Regions from separate parts of the Homo sapiens genome. Here all the other regions are linked to region 1. Evidence: promoter capture Hi-C in 16 types of primary human blood cells and fetal thymus (Javierre and others, 2016). All regions are on one chromosome and are shown on one strand. The core of a region is centred on a gene start or on the middle of the fragment in contact, and the rest is flanking DNA. Distances in the headings are between cores, read along the strand shown. Region 1 holds the start of RAD51B-AS1 (RAD51B antisense RNA 1). Region 2 overlaps RAD51B (RAD51 paralog B). Region 3 overlaps RAD51B (RAD51 paralog B).

What was found. The method cuts DNA at HindIII sites, captures the fragments that hold promoters and counts their contacts. A CHiCAGO score of 5 or more calls a contact.
Region 2: a fragment that was not itself captured here is called in contact with the fragment with the promoter of RAD51B-AS1 in region 1 in 1 of 17 cell types (neutrophils); the score reaches 11.0 in neutrophils.
Region 3: a contact is called between a fragment that was not itself captured here and the fragment with the promoter of RAD51B-AS1 in region 1, in 1 of 17 cell types (neutrophils). The highest score is 5.7, in neutrophils.

What each region holds. Positions count from the first base shown.
Region 1 is chr14:68,683,831-68,686,881 of GRCh38, forward strand. It overlaps RAD51B-AS1 (RAD51B antisense RNA 1), which reads right to left and starts at 1,610. Exons shown (of 4, transcript XR_007064220.1): 1 at 1,541-1,610. RefSeq lists enhancers at 1-314, 1,898-1,947. The HindIII fragment of the contact is 3,133 bases long and covers 1-2,856 here.
Region 2 is chr14:67,837,947-67,840,997 of GRCh38, forward strand. The region is part of intron 4 of RAD51B (RAD51 paralog B); the gene reads left to right. Among named protein-coding and RNA genes, the nearest start is that of RAD51B, 20 kb to the left of the region's middle. The HindIII fragment of the contact is 6,831 bases long and covers 1-3,051 here.
Region 3 is chr14:67,881,041-67,884,091 of GRCh38, forward strand. The region is part of intron 5 of RAD51B (RAD51 paralog B); the gene reads left to right. Among named protein-coding and RNA genes, the nearest start is that of RAD51B, 63 kb to the left of the region's middle. The HindIII fragment of the contact is 1,782 bases long and covers 666-2,447 here.

The sequences.
Region 1 (3,051 bases), core at 360-2,859:
CCTCTGTCCCATGCTCTTAGTCTCATGGCTCTCAGGAGCAGGACACAAGAGACGGTTATGCCCAAGCACAGAACACTCTTGGAAAGCCATCCTTTCCCTTCTGCTGACATTCTGACCCCCTCAAGGGTTGTCCATGGGGAACAGGCTTTCTGCACCCAATTGACCAAAAAATAACAGAAGCCTTCTCCTTAAGAAAGAGAGCAGGCCAGACACAGTGGCTCACGCCTATAATCCCAGTGCTTTGGGAGGCTGAGGTGGGAGAATTGCTTGAGCCCAGGAGTTCAAGACCAGCCTGGGCAACACAATGAGACCTCGTCTCTACAAAAAAACTTAAAAATTAGCCAGGCATGGTCTCAGCTACTCAGGAAGCTGAGGTGGGAGGATTGCTTGAGCCCAGGAGGCTGAGGCTGCAGTGAGCCGTGATCATGCCACTGCACTCCAACCTGGACAATAAAGCAAAAGATCCTGCCTCAAAAAAGAAGAAAGAGAACAGAGCCCTACAGAGAAGGAAGAAGGCAGGCACATTGTCACTTTTGCTCTCAAGCTCCCTGGATCTCTCCTAGAGGAGAGACCCCCAAACCTGCCTGCACTCCGCAGGAGCTGACTGGGGGAGGACCCTTTCCAGGGACACCTCCCTGGAGGTGCTCTAATATTTGGCTGCTTGGCCATTCTGGGCCAAGAAGACTCCTTCCCTAGCCCAGGACCATTAGTCTCCCTGATGATTGCTGCAGAAAGGCCCAATTTTCAGGGCCCTACCTAGCCCTTCAATACCTTTGAGCCACCCATCTTGTCTGAGCCAGAGTCCTAAAGCCAGTCCTGAGCTTCAAGACCCATGCTTGCCCTGGCCACTGCTTCCCCTGGGAGAGCTGCCTGGCTTCCTGCAGAGAGCTGGCCTGCAAGTTGGAAGGGCATATTCTCCTCCCGGCTCCCTGGCTAAATTGCTATAGAATTTCAGGTCACTCAAGTGAACTTTCTGTGACTATTTTTTCCTCCCTTCAAGATTTATCAACTATTAATTGGAGCCTCTAGATGCCTGCAATGTGGAGGTCCTGAGAATTCAATACAGAATAATACAAATGCAGTTCTTCCTGTGAAGCCTGGACAACCTTTCCCTTCCTTCCTTCCTTCTTTCCTTCCTTCCTTCCTTCCTTCCTTCCTTCCTTCCTTCTTTCTTGAGTTTCCTGATGCCAGCTCCTCAGATGGTGAGCCAGCGGTGGGAAGGTAGTGGTGGGGGTGATTATAAATACAATAAGAAATAAACCCACACACTGCAAAACTCCATGTTAATACTATTAATAGTATTTCCAAATTGCATACAGGTAGAAGACAGTTCCTTAGCAACATGATCGTAATGAGAATTCCACAAGGGCATCTGGAATTTACTCTGTCAGACATTCCAGCTTATCAGGAAATGAAAAGGACCAAGACTATCATATAATGTGCAAACTATGCTAATGCCTATCACTAGTGTATATCAGACCCCAGTTACAGGACTGACCCATGGGACTCCCCTTGTCTCAGCTTTAATCACATGAAGTACCTGAGGCCTGTTGTCCTCCTCGGGGCTCAATGCCTTCTTGCGGCCAGGTCCTTCGTATAATTCAAGAGTTGAAATCACTGTCAACACAGCCCTTTGACTAATGTTCCGGGGTGACAGGCCTGGCACGTGAACACATGAGTGATGCTATTATCCCCCAAATCACAGGTGAGTGAGGTCTCTGGAGATGTCCACCCCCACATGAATTTCCCTTTGTGGTAGCAGTAACATCTGAGTCACTAAGCATGGGGCCACAATTTAGGCTCACTCCCTCCCCTTCCTGTGCCCCAAAAGGGGGCTGAAGGCGGGTCCTCACAGCAGAAAAAGCTCCACTTCCTCCGAGCTCCAGACAGCACATCTCAGCTGTGTTGGGCCTTACAAGGCTGCGGTCAACAGGCACCCAGGTGATGAGGTCTTTCTCAGCCTGTTGTTCTCTTGTTAGCCCTTTGATGTTTCAAAGCTGACGAGGTCAGCATCTTCCAGGCTGCAGGAAACATGCCTGCCAGGTATACCTTTCAAGCAGCTGATTAATATGTCATGTGGTCTCTGGTCAGAGGAGAGTGTAAGGGCTGTTGAAATGACTCACCAGCTCAGCTCCCGTGTCTTTGGGAAACGCTACCCTGTCAGCAAGAGGCCTCCAGCTGAAAAGTAAAGACACAGATCTGAAAGGGTACAGTTCTAGCGTCCAACAAACTATTATACATCCTAAATGAAGTGAGAAATGGTAGGCTCTTCACCTGCCAGGGCCTGGCGGGGCCTGTGTCCCAGGACTGCTTAGGAATCCAAGCCTCGCACTGTTTATCCATTATACTGATGAGAAGCCTGTGAGACAGGGAGGCTTGCTGGGCCTCCAAAGTCCACTTGCTGGCTTGTTACTTGGCACCATCAGATCTACGCTAGGGATGGTGTAACTAGAGCCTTTGAGTGCATGAAAAGTCTGTGGCCTGACAAAGCACTTACTGACCAAGGAAAATCAACTTCAGGTGCAGCAGGAAAGGTCTGGTACCCAGAATGTCTGGGGTTTTGAGACACTGGAAAAGATTGCCTAATAATGTCATGGGCTCCCTTCCCTGGAAATAATCTGAAAATAGGATAAGTTCCCTCCAATCTTGGATGGGTCAACCTCGTCTTGAGGTAAGGAGACGGTTACATCAACCCATGGAGAGGGCCTGTCAGCAACTCTGAGTCTATTAGAGGGTATATTTTCAAACACAAAAAACTTTTTATCCTGGTAAAATATACCTAACGTAAAAGCTACCATTTTACCCATGTTTAAGTGTACAATTCAGTGGCATTAAGTACATTCACATCGTTGTATAAGCTTCCCCGTCATCTCTCTCCAGAACTTTTTCATCTTTCCAAACTGAAACTCTGTGCCCATTAAACACTGACTCCTCTTTCCCCTCCTCACAGCCCCTGGCAACTACCATTCTCCTTTTCATCTTTATGATTTTGACTACTCTAAGTACCTTGCATACGTGGAGTCACGCAGGGTTCTTGTGTGACGGGCTTGT
Region 2 (3,051 bases), core at 405-2,904, 850 kb before region 1:
CCCTCTAACCATCTCAGCCTCTAATAACCACTATTCTACTCTCCACTTCTATGAGATCAATTTTTTTAGCTTCTACATGTGAGTGAGAACATGCAAGGTTTGTCTTTCTGTGTCTGACATTTTACTCAACATAATGACCTTGAGTTCCATCCATGTTGTTAGAGATGACAGAATCTCATTCTTTTTTATGGCTGAAATAGTACTCCATTGCATGTATGTACCACATATTTATCCATTTGTCTGCTGATGGACACTTAGGTTGATTCCATCTCTTGGGTACTGTGAATAGTGCTGCAATAAAAATGGGAGCGTAGATTGACATACTGATTTCATACTGTGTATCATACATGCGCATGCACATACACACATGTGGAGGTAAGAGAGAGCTAGCAAAACGATAAAGTAAATTGGGCAAAATGTTAACGGTGGGTGGATGTGGGAAAAGAATGCATATATATATTCTGTATTGTTTTTATTTATTTTTAATTTATTTTTATTTTAAATTAAAAAAAAAGATACATGGTCTAGCTGTGTCACCTAGGCTGGAGTGCAGTGGCACAACCATAGCTCACTGCAGCTTCAAACTCCTGGGCTGAAATGATCCTCCTTCCTCAGCCTCCCAAGTAGCTAGGACTACAGGTGTGCACCACCATGCCTGGCTAATTTTTTAAAATGTTTTGTAGAGATGAGGGCTTGCTATGTTGCCCAGACTGGTCTTGAACTCCTGACCTCAAGTGATCCTTTCTGCCCTGGCCTCCCAACGTGTTGGGATTACAGGTGTGAGCTACTGCGCCTGGCCTTCTGTTTTTATTAATACCATTTTCCTGTAAGTTTAAAATTATTTCTAGATAAAAAAGTAAAAAAAAAAAAACCTGTGATGTTTGCTGTAAGTAGATATCCTTGATCAGAAATAAAGAACTTTCCTCCATTTCCTAGCTAAAATACTAATTTGGTGTTACATTTTATCAAAAACTTTTTTTTCTGCATTGATTGAAATGATTGTATTATTTTTCATCTTTGGTCTAATAGCATGGTGAGAAACATTTAATAGATTTTTCTGATGTTAAACTACTATTGCATTTTTGGGACAAGTTCAACTTGGTCATGATATATTATCTTTTTTTATAAACTGTTGGATTCAGTTTGCTAATATTTAAGATTTTTCAATATTTAGGATGGATATTCAGCTGTAATTTTCCTTTTAGTAGTGTCTTTGTCTGAATTAGTATTTATCTTATACTAGTTTGGTAGAATGGATTATGGAATATCTCTTTTTTTAATATTCTGCAATAGTTTGCCTATGATGGGAATTATTTGTTCCTTGAAGATTTGGTAGAACTTGTCTGAAAAATTGTCTGATCTTGATATTTTTCCTTCTGAGAAGATTTTTTAAAAATTCAATTCCTTTAATGATTATAGGACTACTCAGATTTTCTATTTCTTCTTGATTAGTTACAGTGAATGAGATTTTTAGGAATTTGTCCATTTTCTTTATGTTTTCAAATTTATTATAATAAAGTTATTCATTACAATCTTCCAGCTCTTAAATCTGGTTTTACATGTGGTTTTTGTCCCCCTTTCCATTTCTGATATTACTTACTTTGTTTTATTTCTCCCTCTCTTTTAAAAAAAATCTTGTCAGAAGTTTGAGTATGTATGTCATCATTTTAAAGAACTCTGCATTTTGTTGTTCTTTGTTGGTCTTCTCTATTATTTCTTCATCTTCTACCTCCTTTATTTCTGCCATTTTCTTATTATCTCCTTTTATTTAATTTTTTTGTGGGGTTATTCTTTGCTTCTAACTTCTTAAATTAGATATTTAATCTATTAATTTTCAGTTTTTCTTTTTACTCTGACCTTTTAAGACTGAATTTTTCTTGAAGCATTCTATTTTGAGATATAGTATTTCCATTTTCATTCTGTTCTAGAAGTATTTAAACATTCCCATCACAATTGCTTCTTTGACTCATGTATCATTTGGAATTTTAAAATATCTAAATTACTTAATTAAAAAAATTTATTTTAATTACATTATTAATCTAATTGCATTTTTGTCAGATAACTTTGCATGATATTGATTTTTTGAAGTTCCCTGAGACATCTTTTAAGGTTAAATATGTGATGAACTTTGATAAATGTTGCACGTGTGCTTGAAAAGAATGATTATTCTCTAATAATTGGGTGCCCTATTTTATTTTAGGTTCAGGGGGTATATGTACAGGTTTGTTACATTGGTATATTGCGTGATGCTGAGGTTTGGGGTACGATTTATACCATCTCTCAGCTACTGAACATAGTCCCCAATAAGTAGTTTTTTTAGCCTTTTTCCCTGCTCCCTTCTTCCTCCTTCTAATAATCTCCAGTGTTGATTGTTCCCATCTTTGTGTCCATGTATACCCAATGTTTAGCTCCCACTTATAAGTGAGAACATGCAGTCTTTGGTTTTCTGTTCCTGTGTTAATTCACTTAGGATAATGACCAAGAGCTGCATCCATGTTGCTGCAAAGGACATGATTTTGTTCTTTTTATGGCTGTGTAGTAGTCCATGGTATATATTTACCACATTTTCTTTATCTACTCTACCATGGATGGGCACTTAGGTTGATTCCATGTCTTTGCTATTGTGGATACTGTGGCAGTGAACATACGAGTGCATATGTCTTTTTGGTAGAGTGATTTATTTTCCTTTGGGTATATATCCAGCAATGAGATTGCTGGCTCAAATGGTAGCTCTGTTTTAAGTTCTTTGGGAGATCTCCAAACTCCTTTGCACAGTGATTGAACTAATTTATATTTCCACCTACAGTGTATAAGCATTCCATTTTCTCTGCACCCTTTCCAGCATCTATTATTTTTTGACTTTTTTTTTTTTTTTGGGACAGAGTCTCATTCTGTTGCCCAGCCCGGAGGGCAGTGGCACTTTTGGCTCACTGCAACCTCTGCCTCCCAGGTTCAAGTGATTCTCGTGCCTCAGCCTCCTGAGTAGCTGGGATTACAGGTGTGTGCTACCATGCCCAGCTAATTTTATTTTTTAGTAGAGATGGGGTTTCA
Region 3 (3,051 bases), core at 307-2,806, 800 kb before region 1:
TGCTTCTAGGCTATGAACCTGTACAGCATGTTACTGTATTGAATAGGCAATTACAACACAATGGTAAGTATTTGTGTATCTAAACAAAGGAAAGGTATTGTAAAAATATACTATATAAGCTTATGGGACCACTGTTGTATAAGTGATGCATCATTGACTGAAATGTCGTTATGCAGCACATGACTGTGGTTTTTTATTCTGAAACTTATTTAGCTTCACTACTAAGGTAAAATCCTTCTGAAAATTCTGCCCAATGCCCAGTGTATAATAAGGTCTCTTTATTCTTCACCTTGTGTAAACCCGAACTGTTCTCACCCTGTGTGGGCACTAGGAAGTGTTCAGTCTGATACTTTCTGGTGGTTCTTTCCTCAACCTCAAGTAGTTTCCCTTCACACATGTGCAGATTAGTTCTCAAGTGGCCCTCTCTGCAGATCTTTGCAGTGCTCACTCTGCACACCTGCTTCCTCTCTGGTACTCTGCCCCATAAGTTCTAGCCACCTTAGCTTTCCCAAACTCCGATCCCCATCTCCTCAACTCAGGTTGTCTACCAGGCTCTGTTTACTTTCCCTTTCTTGTGTTGCAGCCTGGAAACTGCCTCTGGAGCAAACTGAGGTGATTGTAAGCTCATTGTGTTTGTTTCCTTTCTCTCAAGGATTACAGTCTCAAGCTTTCTATTGTTCAGTACCTGAAAACTCTTATTTCATGTATTCTGTCTGATTTTCTACTTATTATTTTAGTGCAATTCATGTACCAGTTAATCCTTTGTGGGCTAAAGTGGAAATCCCTTCTTTCATTCTCTCTTGAGTTCACTCTATCCAGGCTTAAGTTTCCAGCTCTATAATGCAACTGATTTAAAAAATTTTATCCAACCCAATAGCAGCATTCGAAAGAGTTGATCACTCACTTTTTCTTGAAAAGCTCTCTTCCCTTGACTTTTTATTTTTTTAGACAGGTTCTCACCTAACTCTGTCACCCAGGCTGGAGTACAGTGGTGCTATCATGGTTCACTGCAGCTTTGACCCCTCAGACTCAAGCAATCCTCTCACCTCAGCCTCTCGAGTAGCTGGGACCACAGGCATATGCCACCATGCCCAGCTAATTTTTTAATTTTTAGTACAGATAAGGTTTTGGTATGTTGCCCTGGTTGGTCTTAAACTTCTGGGCTCAAGAGATCCTCCTGCCTTGGCCTCCTAAAGTGTTGGGATTATAGGCATGAGCCACCATGCCCAGCCCACTTGGCTTCTTGGAACTATTCTCTCTTCTTTTACACCTACCTTCTTGGTCACCTCCTCCTCTCAGTCCCTTTTGCTGGATCCTCCTCATCATTTTAACTTCTAGGCTTTGGGGAATCCCAGAACTCAGTCCTAGGACCTTTTCTCTTCTATATCTGTACTCAATCCCTAATATCATCTGGTCTTATGATCTTTAAAATCTTTTATAGGCTGTAACTCCTATTGATATCTGAATTCTGAGCTTTCCCATGAACTTCAGATTCATATTCATTTGCGTAATGACATGGAACTTGGATAGGTTTACATACATGGATTTCCTGATATGTCCAAAACTGCATTTTTGTTTCCCCCATGAAGGAAATAAAACATGCAAATAACACCAATAACCAAAACCTTTATGTGAATCTTGTCTTTTCTGCTTCAATAAAGTTGTGATTCCATTCTTCTAGACACTCACCCAATTAGTCAAGAAATTCTTTCTTTTTTTTTTTGAGACGGAGCCTCACTCTGTTGCCTAGGCTGAGTGCAGTGGCGTGATCTTGGCTCACTGCAACCTCCATCTCCCAGATTCAAGCGATTCTCTTGCTTCAGCCTCCCGAGTAGCTGGGATTACAGGCGCCCGTCACCACACCTGGCTAATTTTTGTATTTTTAGTAGAGACGGGGTTTTGCCATGTTGGCCAGGCTGGTCTTGAACTCCTGACCTCAGGTGATCCGCCTGCCTTGGCCTCCCAGGGTGCTGGGATTGCAGGCGTGAGCCACCGTGCCCGGCCAAGAAATTCTTTCAGCTCCTCTTTTGAACTATATCTTGAGTCTAGTTACTTCTCATCACTTGACCTGTTACTTCCCTGGGTGAGGTCACTACCAGCTCTTAACTGGTCACTACCAGCTCTTATCTGTGCTAGCTGATCTCCTTGCTTTCATTCTTGCCCAAGCCTCTTCTCCATTGGGCAGTTAGAGCAGTCCTTTTAAAAAAAGAAGTCAGATCATGTTGTTCCTGCTTCTAGGCTTCCTATTTTGCTAAATAAAAGCTAAAAAAAAAAAATACCACTTTAGCAAAAAAAAAAAAAACAAAAACCACAGACCTAAAGGTCTTATGTGATCTTGGCCTTGGCTAGCTCTTTGTTTTCTTTTATTCTCCCTCTTACTCTCTGTGTTCCAGATACTTTAGTCTCTTTGTTGTTTCTCAGACACACCAGGCATCTTTCCACATGTAAGCTTTTGCACTTGTTATAATTCTCTATTCTTGTGTGCTGTTTCACTGGGTATCCACATGGTTCATTTTCTTATCTCTTTTAAGCTTTTGCTCAAATGTCACCTTATTAATAAGGCTTTGTCAGTTCACCTGACATAAAATATAAAATAGCGCTAGCCCCACCTGTCACATTCTATTCTCTCATCCTGCTTCATTTTCCTCTACAGCCTTATTACCTCATATATAATATATATTTATTTGTTTGTCTTCCTCAGTAGAATTTAAACCCTATGAGGTAAGGGCTTTTCTTTTTCTTTTGGTAGTGGTGGTTGTTCATTGCCATATTCTCAGCACCCAGAACAGTGCCTGGCATATAGTAGGTCCTCAATAAATATTTGTTGAATGAATGGATCTTAGTGCTCATTTTGAAAAGAATGCTTTTTATAAACAGATATCCACTAGATGGCATTATTTTCAAACTTTATGTAATTAATGTCTGGGAGCAAATGATAGGTTATTTTCTGTTTTTTGCCCTAAACAAAAAAGATCTTTGCAATGAAGATTGTCACAAGAAGTTACTAGGATGAATGTGAGGCATGTCGAATATTGCATTTATATTTGGTTT